Linked DNA regions of Homo sapiens: region 1 is linked to region 2. Evidence: promoter capture Hi-C in human tissues and cell types (Jung and others, 2019). All regions are on one chromosome and are shown on one strand. The core of a region is centred on a gene start or on the middle of the fragment in contact, and the rest is flanking DNA. Distances in the headings are between cores, read along the strand shown.

Region 1 (3,849 bases), core at 118-2,617, 570 kb after region 2:
GAGATCAGATTGTTACTGTGTCTGTGTAGAAAAGGAAGACATAAGAAACTCCACTTTGATCTGTACTAAGAAAAACTGTTCTGTTTTGAGATGCTGATAATCCATAACTTTAGCCTCAACCCTGTGCTCACAGAAACACGTGGTTTAATGGATTTAGGGCTGTGCAGCATGTGCCTTGTTAACCATATGTTTGCAGGCAGTATACTTGGTAAAAGTCATGGCCATCCTCCAGTCTCGATTAACCAGGGACACAATGCACTGCGGAAAGCCGCAGGGACCTCTGCCCGAGAAAGCCTGGGTATTGTCCAAGGTTTCCCCCACTGAGACAGCCTGAGATATGGCCTCATGGGAAAGGAAAGACTTTACCATCCCCCAACCCGACACCCGTAAAGGGTCTGTGCTGAGGAGGAGGAGTGAAAGAGGGAGGCCTCTTTGCAGTTGAGATAAGAGGAAGGCTTCTGTCTCCTGCTGGTCCCTGGGAATGGAATGTCTAGGTGTAAAGCTGACCATTCCCATTCATTCCATTCTGAGATAGGAGAAAATTGCCCTGTGGCTGGAGGCGAGATATGCTGGCAGCAATACTGCTCTGTGACTCTTTGCTACACTGAGATGTTTGGATGAAGAGAAACATAAATCTAGCCTACGTGCACATACGGGCACAGTACCTTTCCTTGAACTTATTCATGATACAGATTCCTTCGCTCACATGTTTCTCTGCTGACCCTCTCCCCACCTGTTGCCCAGCCACATTCCCCTCGCCAAGATAGTAAAAATAGTGATCAATAAATACTGAGGGAACTCAGAGACCAGCGCCAGTGCGGGTCCTCGCACGTTAAGCGTCTGTCCCCTGGGCCCACTGTTCTTTCTCTATACTTTGTCTCTGTGTCTTGTTTCTTTTCTGAGTCTCTCATCTCCACCTGACTAGAAATACCCACAGGTGTGGAGGGGCTGGCCCCCTTCACACTCAGGACCCTTCCAGATCTCATCCTGTGTGTCTATCTGGCTGCACATCTGTATTTTTCAGATCATTTATTAAATTGAGAGTCAGATCCCAGCTGCACATCTGTATCTTTCAGATCATTTATTAAATTAGGTGAGAGTCAGATCCCACACGGTAGGAGCTCAGTCCCACAAGATCACCCTTGACTTCAGATGCCAGTTGCAAGCGCTGGGTTGCTCTGCCTGTGTTTGACCAACCGGCTATACATGGGGGTTCCCCTGACCCCTTCCTTGGGTTAGACTGATTTGCTAGAGTGGATCACAGACCTCAGGAAAACAATTACATTTCATAAATGATTGCTTGAGCTCAGGAGGCAGAGGCTGCAGTGAGCTGAGATCCCACCTCAGCCTCCCAACTAGCTGGGATTACAGGCACCTGCCACCACACCCGGCTAATTTTTGTATTTTTAGTAGAGACGGGGTTTCACCATGTTGGCCAGGGTGATCTCGAACTCCTGAGCTCAAGTGATCTGCCCGCCTCGGCCTCCCAGAGTGCTGGGATGACAGGTGTGATCCGCCATGCCCGGCCCGGCCCCTGGCCACCTTCAGATCTGTCTTCTCCATCCCGCTCAAAGGGCAATGCATATGCAAGTGTTTATGCATGGATTGTTTGCTCTCCATTGTGATAATTTTTTAAAAGCTCCTCAGTCTTTTGACTTTTTATTAATTATTGCATGCCTGTATCTAATTATCTTCTGTGCCGCATAGAAAGCTCCTCATTCTTCAAGCCTCTCGATTGAAACTATGATGGGGATCTCTCCTGTCAGACCAAGAGGAAATGGGAGAGAAGATGTAGCAGAAGCCATATTTAAAGATAGAGATCATGGTAAAATGTTCTCAGAAGCCTGTGCAAATGTTCATCCACAAATGCAGGAAGCTCAGTGAATTTTTAAGCAGGATAAACACAAAGAAATACCAAAACCACACACAATGGGGGTGGGAGGGGAAACTTAAAATTAGCCAGAGACAAGACACATTAAGCACATTGCCTACAATGGGACGAAATATACTGATTTATTTAGAAAAAGCATGGCAGCCTGAATGGGATGGAATTACATCTTTAACATGTAAAAGAACAAAAGAAAGAAAACAGTGAAAGAAAACCTACAATTCTCTGATGTGTGGGGGAAAAAAATCTACAAAAATAAAATCAAAACAGATATTTTTGGTCTCAAATACACCGTGGTCATCTGGTTTATAATGATAACTACTGTTGTTCACTTGAGAAAAAGTGGTTTTTCAACAGCATTCTGTGTTCATATGTGAATTTTTTTTAAACCTGACTTTATACTACATAGAAACACTTACTCAAAGTAGGTCATAGCCCCACTTGTGCATGGTACAATAAGACTTTGAGAGAAAAATGCACAGGAAGTTATTCTTATGACTTTGGGCTTGGAAACAATTATTTTCTTTTGAGACGTGGTCTCACCCTGTCACTCAGGTTACAGTGCAGTGACGTGATGACAGCTCACTGCAGCAACCTTGGACCTTTGGGCTCAAGAGATCCTCCTGCATCAGCCTGATGAGTAAGCCGTGACTACAGGCATCCACCACCATACCTAGATAATTTTTTTGTTTTGTTTTTAGAGACGGGAGTCTCACTATGTTGCCCAGGCTGGTCTCCAACTCCTGGCCTCAAACAATCCTCCTGCCTCAGCCTCCCAAACTGCTGGGATCACAGGCATGAGCCACCAAGCCTGGCAATGATTCCCTAAACACACACAAAAAGCAGCTGAACACGAAAAGACACATTCAGTTTTGATAAAGAATCTCTCTTAATTCAAAGATGATATTAAGAATGTGGAAAACCAAACCACATAGAAGATATTTGCAATGCATGTATTTGACCTAGGATTCATTCCGCAATATAAGAAAAACACCTGTCAATCAATTAGAAAAAGACAGCCCAATAAAACAATGGGCTACATCAGCACATCAAACAGACATATCACAACAGGAAGCCCAGAAAGTCAAACAAATGAAAAGGCGCTCATATTATTAGTCATTAGAGAAATGCAAATTAAAACCACTCAGATATTATGCCCGAAGCAGAATGGATTTGAAAAGATCAACACCCTTAAGTGTTGGGGAGAAAACGGGACAAGTGGAACACATTCATTTCATAGGCAAATAATCTGGTGAAGCCTCTGGTTAAAAGATACTGATTAAGTCTAGTTTCACTGGAAGTTTCATAAAAGCATATTTTTAAAAACAGCTTTGTACATTTCATTAGTAAAGTTTCCTAGTTTTAAGAATGCACTATTGTTATGTAAGATGTTACCTTTGGTGGAAGTTGGGTGGTGATTGGTATATGGGACTTCTCTGTACTATTATTGTAATTTCCTGTGAGTATAATAATCTTTCAATAAAAAGTAAACAACAATGACAAAGTAAAATGGCTGATGTGGAGAAACAGGTGTTTGTCATAAGGGTTTCCAGATACACACGAATTAAGGTGTGGTATCCATAAAAATGTTTGTCCAGGGCCACTGCACAGTATTAGATGTTTTTTTCCTAGTACAAGAGCCCCTGGGTTGGATTTAGGCAAATACCCCATTCTGTTTTAGCCAAGCTGACCCCCTCCCACCACCAGAAGAGAAGCATCACTCTAATCTCTCCTAGGGCACTTCACAGGCTAGCACTCAGTAGTCCAGTACTAGATAATCCTTTGTTGTTGGGGAGCTGTCCTGTACATTACTGGGTATTTAGCAGCATCCTTGGTGATATGGTTTGGCTCTGTGTCCCCACCCAAATCTCATCCTGTAGCTCCCATAATTCCCATGTGTTGTGGGAGGGACCCAGTGGAAGATAATTAAATCACAGGGGCGGGTCTTTCCCAGGCTGTTC
Region 2 (3,699 bases), core at 171-2,670:
CTGGGGGCCTGGCCTCCTGGGTCTGAGGGAGGAGGAGCTGGGGCCTGGACTCCTGGATCTAAGGGAGGAGAGGCTGGGAGTCTAGACTCCTGAGTCTGAGGGAGGAGCGGGCTGGGGGCCTGTACTCCTGCGTCTGAGGGAGGAGGGCTCAGGTCTGGACTCTTGGGTCTGAGGGAGGGGGCCGGCTGTCCTAAAGCATGCATGAGGACAGACCTTGGTAGGTGTGGTCCTGGCACAGCCAGGAGGCTGCAGACCCTGCCCCCTCAGCACAGCTGTCCTCTTTTGTCTTATGACAAGTCCATGGGAACCTGATCCAGTTGGGATTAGGAAGAGGCATTTGAGAAGGGACAGTGGCCTGAAGACAATAGCTGCCCCACCCCCAGGAGCTATTTTGGGGGGATGTCATAGATGGTGAAACCGAGGACATTTCCTAAGAAGGGATTTGAGGAAGGGGGGCTTCTGGGAGAATTAGTCACCCGCATCCCCTCTCCCACTCGCCCCACCCCACTGGCTGGTTTCCTCCCCACCTGTCTCCCCTTTCACCTTCCCATACATCACGTAGGGGGCAGGGGCATAAAGGGCACCTTCTGTCCGTAGACCTCACCCTGACCCCTACATTCTTAGACCTCAAAGTCTTTGAGACACCCTAGGCCACAGGGTGCCTAGCCCCAAATCCCAATACCCACAGATTCTGAGACCCCGATTTATGATGCCCGTGTTTCTGAGGCCAGCAAGTCCTCACAGCTCTGGATTCTGAAATCCCAGTTCTTGATAGTCCAGATATGGGCCGGGACATCCTAAGACCACCCCCAGGTCTTGAGACCTCCTAAAATCTGAAACCTCAAGAATATGAGACCCCCAAAATCTTGATACCCAAACTCGGAGGCCCAGTTCATGATACCCCAGATAATGGCACTCTAAGTTTTCATGCTTTCTATCATAATGTCTCAGATTCCGAGCCCTCCACTACCAAAACCCCAATTTCTTCTGAGACCCCCCCAATTCCTGATACCCTCAGAGTCTGAGGCCCCAAATCCTGACACCCAGATTGTTTGACCTCCAAGTCCAGATATCCCTGACTGCTGAGATTTCCCCCAGATTCCCAGAACCCCAAGATCCTAGGAGGTTTTATTCTGGGACATCCAAGTCCTGGCAGCCCCGGGTTAGGATTTGTGTAACCCACAAATCCTAGTATTTTCCCCTCTATCCTGAGTCCCCCTAAAGTCTGAGCCTCTCAAGTTCCCAGACCTCCAGTTGTATGCCCCACCTACCTCTGCACCATTTCTCCACACCCGACATCTTCCCCACCTGCCTCCTGCCCCCTCCCCCAAGGACATGGTTTTTGAAGACCACAGGGCTCCGCAGAGCCCCTTACCTAGGCTGTGTCTGAGATGCTGTGAATCTTGAGGCTGAGCCTTGCTGAGGGCACTGAAGCTCCGGGGAGTTTATAGCTGGAGGCTCGGGCCCGCCCCGAGGGGAGAGGGAGGGGGAGAGAATTCCTTTGCTCAAACACAAGCCTGGGAGTTCAGAGACAGCCCTGCTGCCCCTGGCTCCACACTCAGAGTCCAGAAGCCTCCGTGGGCCCCTCCCCAACCCCATGCCAACCCCATCTGCATGGCCCAGGAGCCCCGCCCCTGCTCCCACCCCACACCCCAGGCTCCCGTGGTGCTCCAACTACCTCCCTTATAGCTCCCTGTGCTTTGACGTCCCCATGCCCGGCACACAGTAGGTCCTTGGAGGACCTACTAATGACACATGGGCTATAAGGAATGTTTCCTGTTTTCTTCTCTCTGTTCCCTCTTTCTATCTAGGTCTCTTTCTGGACCCCCATTTCTGTTGTCTCTGTGGCTCTCCATCTGTGTGTCTCTGTGTGTCTGTCTCTACTTCTTAGTCTCCTCCTCTGTCTCTGTCCATCTTTTTGTCTCCTCCTCCCACCCCCACCCCTTTGTCTGCCGCCAGGATTCCATCCTGGTGACAACAGGCACTAAAGCCGGGAAGCAGGTGTGGGGAGGGGGAGGGGGAGGGTGGGGTGTCAATTAGGGTGAAACCTACCCTCCCTCCCCACCTCCATCTAACGCTGATCTTTTTTGGTATCCCCCTCCCGCTTCCCAGCCAAGCCATGACCTTGAGTTCTAGGTTCAAGCCAGCCCTGGAGAGCAGGCTTCCTCACCCTCCCCGCCTCTCCGTACCTCTGTCTCTGGTGGTCTCGGTCTTTGTGTTTCTGTGCATTTCTCGGGGCCCCTTGCTGGGTCTGTCTTGGGCTCTCTCTGCATCTGTCGCTTTCTGAGCCCCTCAGTGTGTTTCTCGGCATGTGTCTCCGGGTGGTTTTGTCTCTGCATTTCTGTGGGTGTCTCTGCATGTCTGCCCCTCTCAGCGTTTGTGTCTGTGGGGGCTCACAGTCTCTCTGTGCATTTCTGTCCACCTATGACCCCATTTCTGTCTCTTTTTGGCTCTGGGTCTCTGTGTCTGTGTTCACGTCTCTATCTTTCTAGTTCTCTCCATGTCTCTCTTAGTGCCCGCAGTTCCCCCTCTGTGGCTCTCCATTTCCATCTCTTATAGGGTCTCCATGTCTCTGCACCTTGCTGTGAGTATATCTCTGTCTCTCTTTTCTCCTTTCTTTGCACTTCCTTCTATGCATCTTGTGGTATTTTCTCCCTCTCTCTTTGGGTCTTTGCCTGGCTCCTACTCTCTCTACTCCCAACTCAGTCTCTCTGTTGTCGGTCATGTCTCTCTGCCTGTCTGTTTCTCTGTGTCTCTCTCTCTTTGACCTTTAGTCTTGGCATCTCTGTGCACTCCACATGGGCCAGAGGAGCTGTGACAATAGAGATCAGAAGACTGATGGAATGAACTGTTTGTGGCAATAAGATACCAAATTATAAACAAGACCTAAGGCCATGCCAGGCAAGGGTTAAGCCACGCATCCCTACACTTATATAATCGACTATGTTCCAACTGCCACAAGGCTTTTCCTTTTTCTAGCAGCTAAACAAGCACCGGCCTCAAGATAAGCAATATTACAACCATTGCAGCCATCCATTGCCAGATGCTGACTAGCTGAACCCCCTGTTCCACAAGGCATAACTACAGCATTAGTTGAACAAGAGACTGATTTCAGTAACTTTCTCCTGATAAGATGCCGCAGACCACGGACTGGTTCTGGCTGTTGACAGAGGCTGTGCACTGAGTGTCTTCATATCCCTGCTTCGTGTTTCGATACGAATGCATTCAATGGAATGCACTTAAATGTTAAGCCTCCACCACCAAGTGAAGGTGGGATGCATGTAAAATGTGTTTGCGGCCAGTCGCGGTGGCTCACGCCTGTAATCCCAGCACTTTGGGAGGCCAAGGAGGGCGGATCACGAGGTCAGGAAATCGAGACCAGCCTGGCCAACATGGTGAAACCCCGTCTCTACGAAAAACACAAAAATTAGCTGGGCGTGGTGGTGCATGCCTGTAATCCCAGCTACTGGAGAGGCTGAGGCAGGAGAATGGCTTGAACCCAGGACGCAGAGGTTGCAGTGAGCTGAGATCGTGCCACTGCACTCCAGCCTGGGTGACAGAGCAAGACTCCGTCTCAAAAAAAAAAAAAAATGAGTGTTTGCTTGTCACACATGCGTGTGTCCATGTGTCCACCTGTCCATGAATATTCATAGCTCCTTCTATAACCAGTTGAATACGTGCACTTAGCTAACCCACTCA

Evidence for each region. Contacts are between HindIII fragments. The study calls those that stand out against the background at their distance.
Region 1: a fragment that was not itself captured here is called in contact with the fragment with the promoter of TNNT1 in region 2 in 1 of the 25 tissues and cell types used here (neural progenitor cells).

Annotation. Positions count from the first base shown.
Region 1 is chr19:55,717,925-55,721,773 of GRCh38, forward strand. All of the region lies in intron 4 of NLRP9 (NLR family pyrin domain containing 9), which reads right to left. Among named protein-coding and RNA genes, the nearest start is that of NLRP9, 19 kb to the right of the region's middle. The HindIII fragment of the contact is 6,338 bases long and covers 1-3,849 here.
Region 2 is chr19:55,147,786-55,151,484 of GRCh38, forward strand. TNNT1 (troponin T1, slow skeletal type) reads right to left here and starts at 1,421. Exons shown (of 14, transcript NM_003283.6): 1 at 1,376-1,421. The HindIII fragment of the contact is 19,018 bases long and covers 1-3,699 here.